Linked DNA regions of Homo sapiens: region 2 is linked to region 1. The links are contacts of gene promoters, found by promoter capture Hi-C in blood cells and fetal thymus (Javierre and others, 2016). All regions are on one chromosome and are shown on one strand. Each heading gives the region's core, a stretch centred on a gene start or on the middle of the fragment in contact. The rest is flanking DNA. Distances are from core to core; before and after follow the strand shown.

The links. Contacts are between HindIII fragments. The CHiCAGO score rates a contact against its expected background, and 5 or more counts as called.
Region 2: a contact is called between a fragment that was not itself captured here and the fragment with the promoter of SPINDOC in region 1, in 9 of 17 cell types (M2 macrophages, M0 macrophages, M1 macrophages and 6 more). The highest score is 8.1, in M2 macrophages.

Annotation. Positions count from the first base shown.
Region 1 is chr11:63,811,565-63,815,290 of GRCh38, forward strand. SPINDOC (spindlin interactor and repressor of chromatin binding) reads left to right here and starts at 1,892. Exons shown (of 6, transcript NM_138471.3): 1 at 1,892-2,249. The coding sequence starts at 2,123. RefSeq lists silencers at 1-267, 1,528-1,997. The HindIII fragment of the contact is 4,146 bases long and covers 1-3,726 here.
Region 2 is chr11:63,945,963-63,949,811 of GRCh38, forward strand. NAA40 (N-alpha-acetyltransferase 40, NatD catalytic subunit) reads left to right here. Exons shown (of 8, transcript NM_024771.4): 3 at 989-1,041. Among named protein-coding and RNA genes, the nearest start is that of NAA40, 8.9 kb to the left of the region's middle. RefSeq lists an enhancer at 1-10. The HindIII fragment of the contact is 8,489 bases long and covers 1-3,849 here.

The sequences.
Region 1 (3,726 bases), core at 642-3,141:
GTTGGGAGCCACTGCGCCCCGCCAGGAGGGAACCACTTTAAGTATTGAAAACAGAGAGAATGTAATGCAGGGTTTTGGTGACACGATTAACAGGGGTTAACAGGGAGGTCTGGAAAGCCCAGCAGGGGACAGAGAGAGGCAGTACAGAGACTGGCAAAAGCAAGAAGCTGCCTACAACTCCTAACCTGCAGGGACAAAAAGAGGAGGTGGACTGAGTAGAGCCCAGGGGCATGGATCATCCTACAGATGTTGGGACCACAGCTACCTATCCATGAGCTGGAGCCACAGAGAGGCCTCATCTGCTGCTGGAGATGTCACCTGAGCCTGAGCAAGAGAGAGAAAGAGAAGAAATACCATGGCTCTTTCTTTCCTCCTGCCTTCTCTTCTCCTGCCACTGCCTCCCATTGGCTAAACCGAGGCCTGAAGCCAGATGCTCTGGGAGCCTGAGAAACTGCCCCCCGCAAGACTCAGCCCACTGCAATACAGAGCAGAGCAGAGGGGCACGGAAGGGATCTGTAGCAAATGGTAGAGAATGACCATTCAGCAGAAATAGTTAAACAGGCTTGGTAATACCTTTGTTGTAAAACCTTTAAAATATCAGATACACTTGCACATAACAAAATAATTCCCTTAAAAATAGACTGCAAGGCCAGGCGCGGTGGCTCACGCCTGTAATCCCACTTTGGGAGGCCGAGGCAGACGGATGATGAGGTCAAGAGATCAAGACCATCCTGGCCAACATGCTGAAACCCCGTCTCTACTAAAAATACAAAAATTAGCCGGGCATGGTGGCACGTGCCTGTAGTCCCAGCTACCCAGGAGGCTGAGGCGGGAGAATAGCTTGAACCTGGGAGGCGGAGGTTGTGGTGAGCCGAGATAGCGCCACTGCACTCCAGCCTGGTGACAGAGCGAGACTCTGTCTCAAAAAAAAAAAAATTAAAAAATTGACTGCAATCCATATAGACTAGTTCACACCTCTTCTCACACCCCCATCCTACTACGCGATTCTGAATACTACTGTGTCTGGTCTGATATAACGACATTCGAAGATGGATTTTCAGTGTCAGACATTTTGCATTTTCTGAGCTGAAATCTCATGAGGGTTGCTATAGAAGAGGGAGATGCACATTCCATGTCACAGAAGTAAAAGCTCACCCAGAGTGTGGTTATAGGGCAGCAATGTCATGGCAACTGGACTCTGGTCTTGGGGCTCTCAAGGGATTGCTGTGTGTCCTTGGAGAGGGTCACAAAATCTCCGGACTCCCGTGCCAAAAATGGAAATCATACCCATCAGGGTGGTTTATGTCCGCTCACAGTCCACTCTGCTTCTCTTCTTTGCCTTCCCAGAAGGGTCCAAAATGGTTTTTGAAAGAAACGATGAGCCGGACTAAGAAAACAGATAATGTGCCCACGGCCACGGAGCTGGCAGATGAGAAGGAATTCGGTCTCTGCGTTTCCATACCAAGGCCCTTTCCACTCACCCACCGCTTCTCTTCCTGCCCGGGGCATCTGCTGGCGGAGGAAGGCTTGTCCACGGAAAGGCAAAAGCGACTCCCGATCAAAATCCGGGGGCACCTGGTAGCGCTCTCCACGCCAGCAGAAACGCCCAACTGACTTCTTAATGGAGGGAAACCCCGGGCTTGGCCCGCAGACTGAGGGGCCCGCGTTGCGGGTTTTGGGGGCCCCTCTGCCTCTGCGCACCGGGTGGCCCCGGGTCCCCTCGGCCCTTCCCGCCGCCTCCCGGGTCCAGGGTTTCTAACGGGGCCGCGTGCCCGGGGCGGGGCCACGCGCGATTGGCCGCGCGGCATCGGGGGCGGGTCCGCGGCTGGCCGGCCGGGCGGGCGCCGACAATGAGCCTCCATAAAAGGGAGCGGCGGGGGGCAGGGGCCCCGGATTGAGCCCTCCCCGCCCGGGCTCCCGACGCGCCGAGGTCTCGGGGAGGCCCGGACGCGCCGGTCGCAGGCCCGGCCGGCGAGCGGCGGGCGGGCGGCGGGGAGGGGGCTGCGCGGGGCGGGCGGCGGGCCCGGCGCTATTCCGGCCAGGAGGCGGGAGGCGGTTGCCGGCTGCGCGCCGAAGCCTGCGCGCCAGTCCTCCGGCCACTGCTATCGCCCACGGCCGCACCATGGCCCTAAAGGCCGAGGGCGCCGCACTCGACTGCTTCGAGGTGACGCTGAAATGCGAGGAAGGGGAGGACGAGGAGGAGGCCATGGTGGTGGCCGTAATTCCGCGGCCCGAGCCGATGCTCAGAGGTGAGGATGGAGGGGATTCCACTTCCGCGTCACGGTGCGGGGCCGGGGCTGGGGCCGTCCCTCCCCAGTCGGGGTCCGGGACCCGGGCACCTTCTCACCCCCTTCAGCCTTGGGGCCCAGGTTTCCCTCTCGGATCTGGGTCCAGGGCGCGCTCTTGCACCTCCCCCACCATGGTTTAGAAGCTCAGGCCTCCTCGATTTCCCCCTCCCTTCCCCTTTCCCCCGCCCAGGGTCTGGAGACTTCGATCCACGCCCCGCACGCTCCGGATCTTCCGGTGCCCAAGCGCCCCCTCTCCCGGGCCCAGCACCAGAGGCCGGATCCCCAGAGGCGCTGGGTGGTTGCGGCCGCCGTCTCACAGCCTGGGAAGGGGAGGCAAGCACAACGGCCGGGCTGTGTTCTAGTCCGAGGGGCGGCGAAGCCTCTAGGCCGGAGGCTACAGGCGGGCGCCGCTGCCGACCTCCAGGAGAATTTTAAGGGCTCTCCGAGCATAACGCTTCCCTGCCCACCACCCCGCTTCATTCCCATTCCCGGGCCTTCCACTTGCAGGAGCCACAGGTGTCAAGTTCTGGAGAGAAGGGATGAATGGGACTGCATACAACAGCTAGTTTGGAAAAGCAGTGCAGTGCTAGAACGAGATTAGCTTTGGGAGGGGATGGGAGGAACAATCTCAGAACACTCGCTCTCCCCTCCCCCTTCACCGATTTCTAGTCCTCAGGAGCTTGCAAACCGTAAGAAAACAAAGAGCCATCTTTGTGGGAGACTTAATATGCATGAAAATGCAAATATATTTCCATTCTCCCACCCCGCTTTTCTTAGGCGGGATAGTACCCAAAAGAGGTTGAGAGCAGCAATGCCATTCATTGAACTTCAGCCGAACAGAATGATGTCTGCCTGCACTGCCTGTCATCCTTTTTGGAACTGGAAGGGTTATAAAATTCATGAGGGAAATAAAGGTCACCTCCCTTCTCGGAGCATTTAGTCCAAAAGATAGGTTGTTTTCCTACTTCTGCTAATATTTGTTGAGTGTTCATTGGGCATTGTCAGAGGCTGTCTCAGTTAATCCTCTCAACCCTGCAAGGGTGGCCTTATCCCCACTGTTAGGGCAGGAATAGACAGGTGAATTCATTCAACCAATATTCACTGGACGTCTACTTTAGGCTGTTTAGGCTAGTGTTTTTAGGCTGGGAAGTAGTAGTAAACAGAGCAACCGAAACCCTGCTCTTGAAGAACATATATATACCAATGGCTAAAGACAGAGAAATAGGTTCATGTATAGTATGTTGGGTGGCAATAAATGGTTCAGAGATCACTAAAGCAGGAAAAGGAGAAAGAGGAGGAATGGGTATTTAATTGAATATATCGAGTGGTTCAGAAAGGGTTTTCTAATAAGGTGAATTTTGAGCACAGACCCGAAGGAAGTGAGGATGCCAACCTTGCAGATATCTGCAGGAAGAGCATTTCAGGCCGAATAGCAAGT
Region 2 (3,849 bases), core at 880-3,379, 130 kb after region 1:
GCCTCCTGGGACTTCAGCTTGGTTTATAATTTGACTTATTTTGTCTCCACCCTGTGGCAGAATTGTGACACTACCCACCCACACCGCCTCTGCCTCCTTGCTGTGCAGGGAACTGAGCTCATACCTGTGTGTTGGAAGTTGGCGCCAGCAGTTGGCCCAGGTGTTTGGGAAAACGTGGATTCCAGTGAAGTGGCTGCCTCCCTGTGGATCTTCTTCCTTATGAATAGAGGAGGATCTAGATAATTTTTTTTTCTTTTGTGTGAGACAGGGTCTCACTCTGTCATCCAGGCTGGAATGCAGTGGCACTATCTCGGCTCACTTCAACCTTGCAGCCTCTGCCGCCTGGGCCCAAGTGATCCTCCCACCTCAGCCTCTCAATTAGCTGGGACTATAGGTGCCCACCACCACACCCGGGTAATTTTTGTAGAGACGGGGTTTGGCCTTGTTGCCCAGGATGGTCTTGAACTCCTGAGCCCAAGCATTTCACCTGCCTTGGCCTCCCAAAGTGCTGGGATTACAGGCGTGAGCCACAGTGCCCAGCCCCTGCCTCCATTTAGTATCCCATTTTTTGGTCATTCTTTTAACCCACTCATAGTAAACACTCATTTATAAGGATGTGGCTCAGGGGCTTGATTTTCCATTTGGAGTTGTAACCAGGTAAAGTCAGTGTGCAGCAGATCAGGTAGCCTCTTCTTTGGGTTAGCTGTGCTGTGAGCAGGTTGTATGCCCACAGGCTAATGAGGTCTCCTCTTGCCCTGTCAGGTGATGCCAAACTTAACTCTCCTGGGCCTTTCCACCAAAGCCTTCCTCGCACATGTGACTTCAGAGCTAGGCAAATGGTGGGTTTTGGGAGGCTGCTCCTGGTTCTGAAGTTAGTCTCCCGTTGTGGGTCCCCACAGCATCCCACTCCAAGACAACAGCTCTTGGGATAGGATCTGCACCTCCGCCCCACTTGTCTGTGCTGTTCCTCTTTTCTTTCCCTCCACAGCTTGGAGACCCTCTGGAGGCTTTCCCAGTGTTCAAGAAATATGATAGAAACGGGTGAGTCACATTGAGCATTACCAACTGCTGTCTCCTCGAGTGTCTTCAGGAATTCCCTTTCCAGAGTAGGCTTCCTCAGACACAAATTTTCTCATTGTTCTTCGTATTTACGAAAAAACAGGGCTGGGTGCGGTGGCTCACGCCTGTAATCCAAGCACTTTGGGAGACCGAGGTGGGTGGATCACATGAGGTCAGGAGTTCGAGACCAGCCTGGCTAACATAGTGAAACCCCATTTCTACTAAAAATACAAAAAATTAGCTGGCACGGTGGCGATCGCCTGTAATCCCAGCTACTCGGGAGGCTGAGGCAGGAGAATCACTTGAACCCGGGGGGCAGAGGTTGCAGTGAGCCGAGATAGCACCATTGCACTCCAGCTTGGGTAACAAGAGTGAAACTCCATCTCAAAACAAAACAAAACAAAACAAAACAAAAGCAGAAACTGACTCGTGCCCTATATTGATATAAAATCCCCCAGGTAGGGTGGCAGAAGAATCCATAAATGAGCAAAGATTGCACTTAATCTCAGACTGATGTCTCTTTAGATAAATTTTTCTTTTATTTTTTGAGATGGAGTCTTGCTTAGTCACCCAGGCTGGAGTGCAGTGACGCAATCTCGGCTCACTGCAACCTCCGCCTTCTGGGTTCAGCCGATTCTCCTGCCTCAGCCTCCCAAGTACCTGGGATTATAGGTGCGTGCCACCACACCTCACTAATTTTTGTGGGTTTTTTTTTTTTTTTTTGAGACGGAGTCTCACTCTGTCGTTCAGGCTGGAGTGCAGTGGTGCGATCTCGGCTCACTGCAACCTCTGCCAGGTTCAAGTAATTCTCTGTCTCAGCCTCTCAAATAGCTAGGATTAAAGGCACCCGCCACCACGTCCAGCTAATTTTTGTATTTTTAGTAGAGTCAGGGTTTCACCATCTTGGCCAGGCTGGTCTTGAACTCCTGACCTCATGATCCACCTGTCTCAGCCTCCCAAAGTGTTGGGATTACAGGTGTGAGCCACTGCGCCCAGCTAATTTTTGTATTTTTAGTAGAGATGGGGTTTCACCATGTTGGCCAGGCTGGTCTCGAACTCCTGACCTCAACTGACCCACCTGCCTCAGCCACCCAAAGTGCTGGGATTACAGGTGTGAGCCACCGCGCCTGGCCTGATGTCTCTTCAGGACTGATTATTCTCTCTGCAAAGAATCATTGAGCTGAAACAAACTTGGAAAATTATCTAGGCTGACACTCACATTTAATGCATGGGAAACTGAGGCCCAGAGAGTCAAATGAGCTTTCTGAGTTTATGGAGTTTCCCCTGACAGCTGAGGGGCTTTTAATTTCCAATCTAGTGCTCTTTCCCTGAGTATACAGTATAATTGTTAAAAGCCAATTCCTGGCTATTTGGCCCTGAACAAATTACTTTTCTTCTTTAAAAAGAAAAATATTTGCTGGGCGTGGTGGCTCACGCCTGTAATCTCAGCACTTTGGGAGGCCGAGGTGGGCGGATCACGAGGTCAGGAGATCGAGACCATCCTGGCTAACACGGTAAAACCCCGTCTCTACTAAAAATATAAAAAATTAGCCAGGCATGGTGGCGGGCACCTGTAGTCTCAGCTACTCGGGAGGCTGAGGCAGGAGAATGGCGTGAACCCGGGAGGCGGAGCTTGCAGTGAGCCAAGATTGCGCCATTGCACTCCAGCCTGGGCAACAGAGCAAGACTCCATCTCAAAAAAATGTATATATTTTTTGGTAGAGAAGGGGTCTTGCCTATGTTGCCCGGGCTGGTCTCAAACTGCTGTCCTCAAGTGATCCTCCCACCTCGGCCTCCTAAAGTGCTGTGCCCAGCTGACCCTGAACAAATTACTTAACCTTTCTGTTCCTCAATTTTCTATTTAAAAATGGGCCTGGGCCAGGTGTGGTGGCTCATACCTGTAATCCCAGCACTTTGGGAGGCTGAGGTTGGAAGGATCGTTTGTGCCCAGGAGTCCAAGACCAGTCCTGGCGACATAGGAAGACCCTGTCTCTACAAAAAAAAAATTTTTTTAATTAGCTGGGCATGGTGGCACATGCCTGTATTCCCAGCTACTGAGAAGGCTGATGTGGGAGAATTGCTTGAGCCTGGGAGATGCAGGCTGCAGTGAGCCATGGTAGCAGCATTGCACTCTAGCCTGGGTGACAGCAAGATCCTGTCTCAAAACAAAACAAAAACCCAAAAACCAAAAATGGTTCTAATAATAGTACCTTTCTCATGGACTTGTCAGGAGGATAAGATGTAAAGTGTTAGTTCCTGCAGCATAATAAAAGCTAGATAAGTGTTTGCTGTTATTTTATTTTAAAATTTTATTTTAGATTCGCGGGGTACATGTGCAGCTGTGTAGTGGTGGGGTTGGGCATCTAGTGTACCCATCACCCAAATAGTAATCATCGTACCCAATAGGTAAATTTTCAACCCTCACCCTGTTTGCTGTTACTATTACTGATCCAGTTAACTATAGGCTCTGGAGTGAAGGCCCCCTCACGTTTTTTTCTCGTTTTGGTTTCTAAAATAGGAAGTATAATCTGCCTTACCTGAGATGCTGTTGATGAGTTGTGCTTCCAGAATGTAACATCTTGGCTTGGGGATAAACTGGGGCTCTGGGGGATTGAATTGTAGCTGGGCTTCTTAATAACTCTACTTGGAGAAGTCACTCATATTCCTCAAGCCTCATTTTCTTACCTGTCAAATAGGATGATGATGCCAAACTTGCAAGCTGTTTTTTTTTTTTTTTTTTTGAGATGGTGTCTTGCTCTGTCACCCAGGCTGGAGTGCAGTGGCGCCATC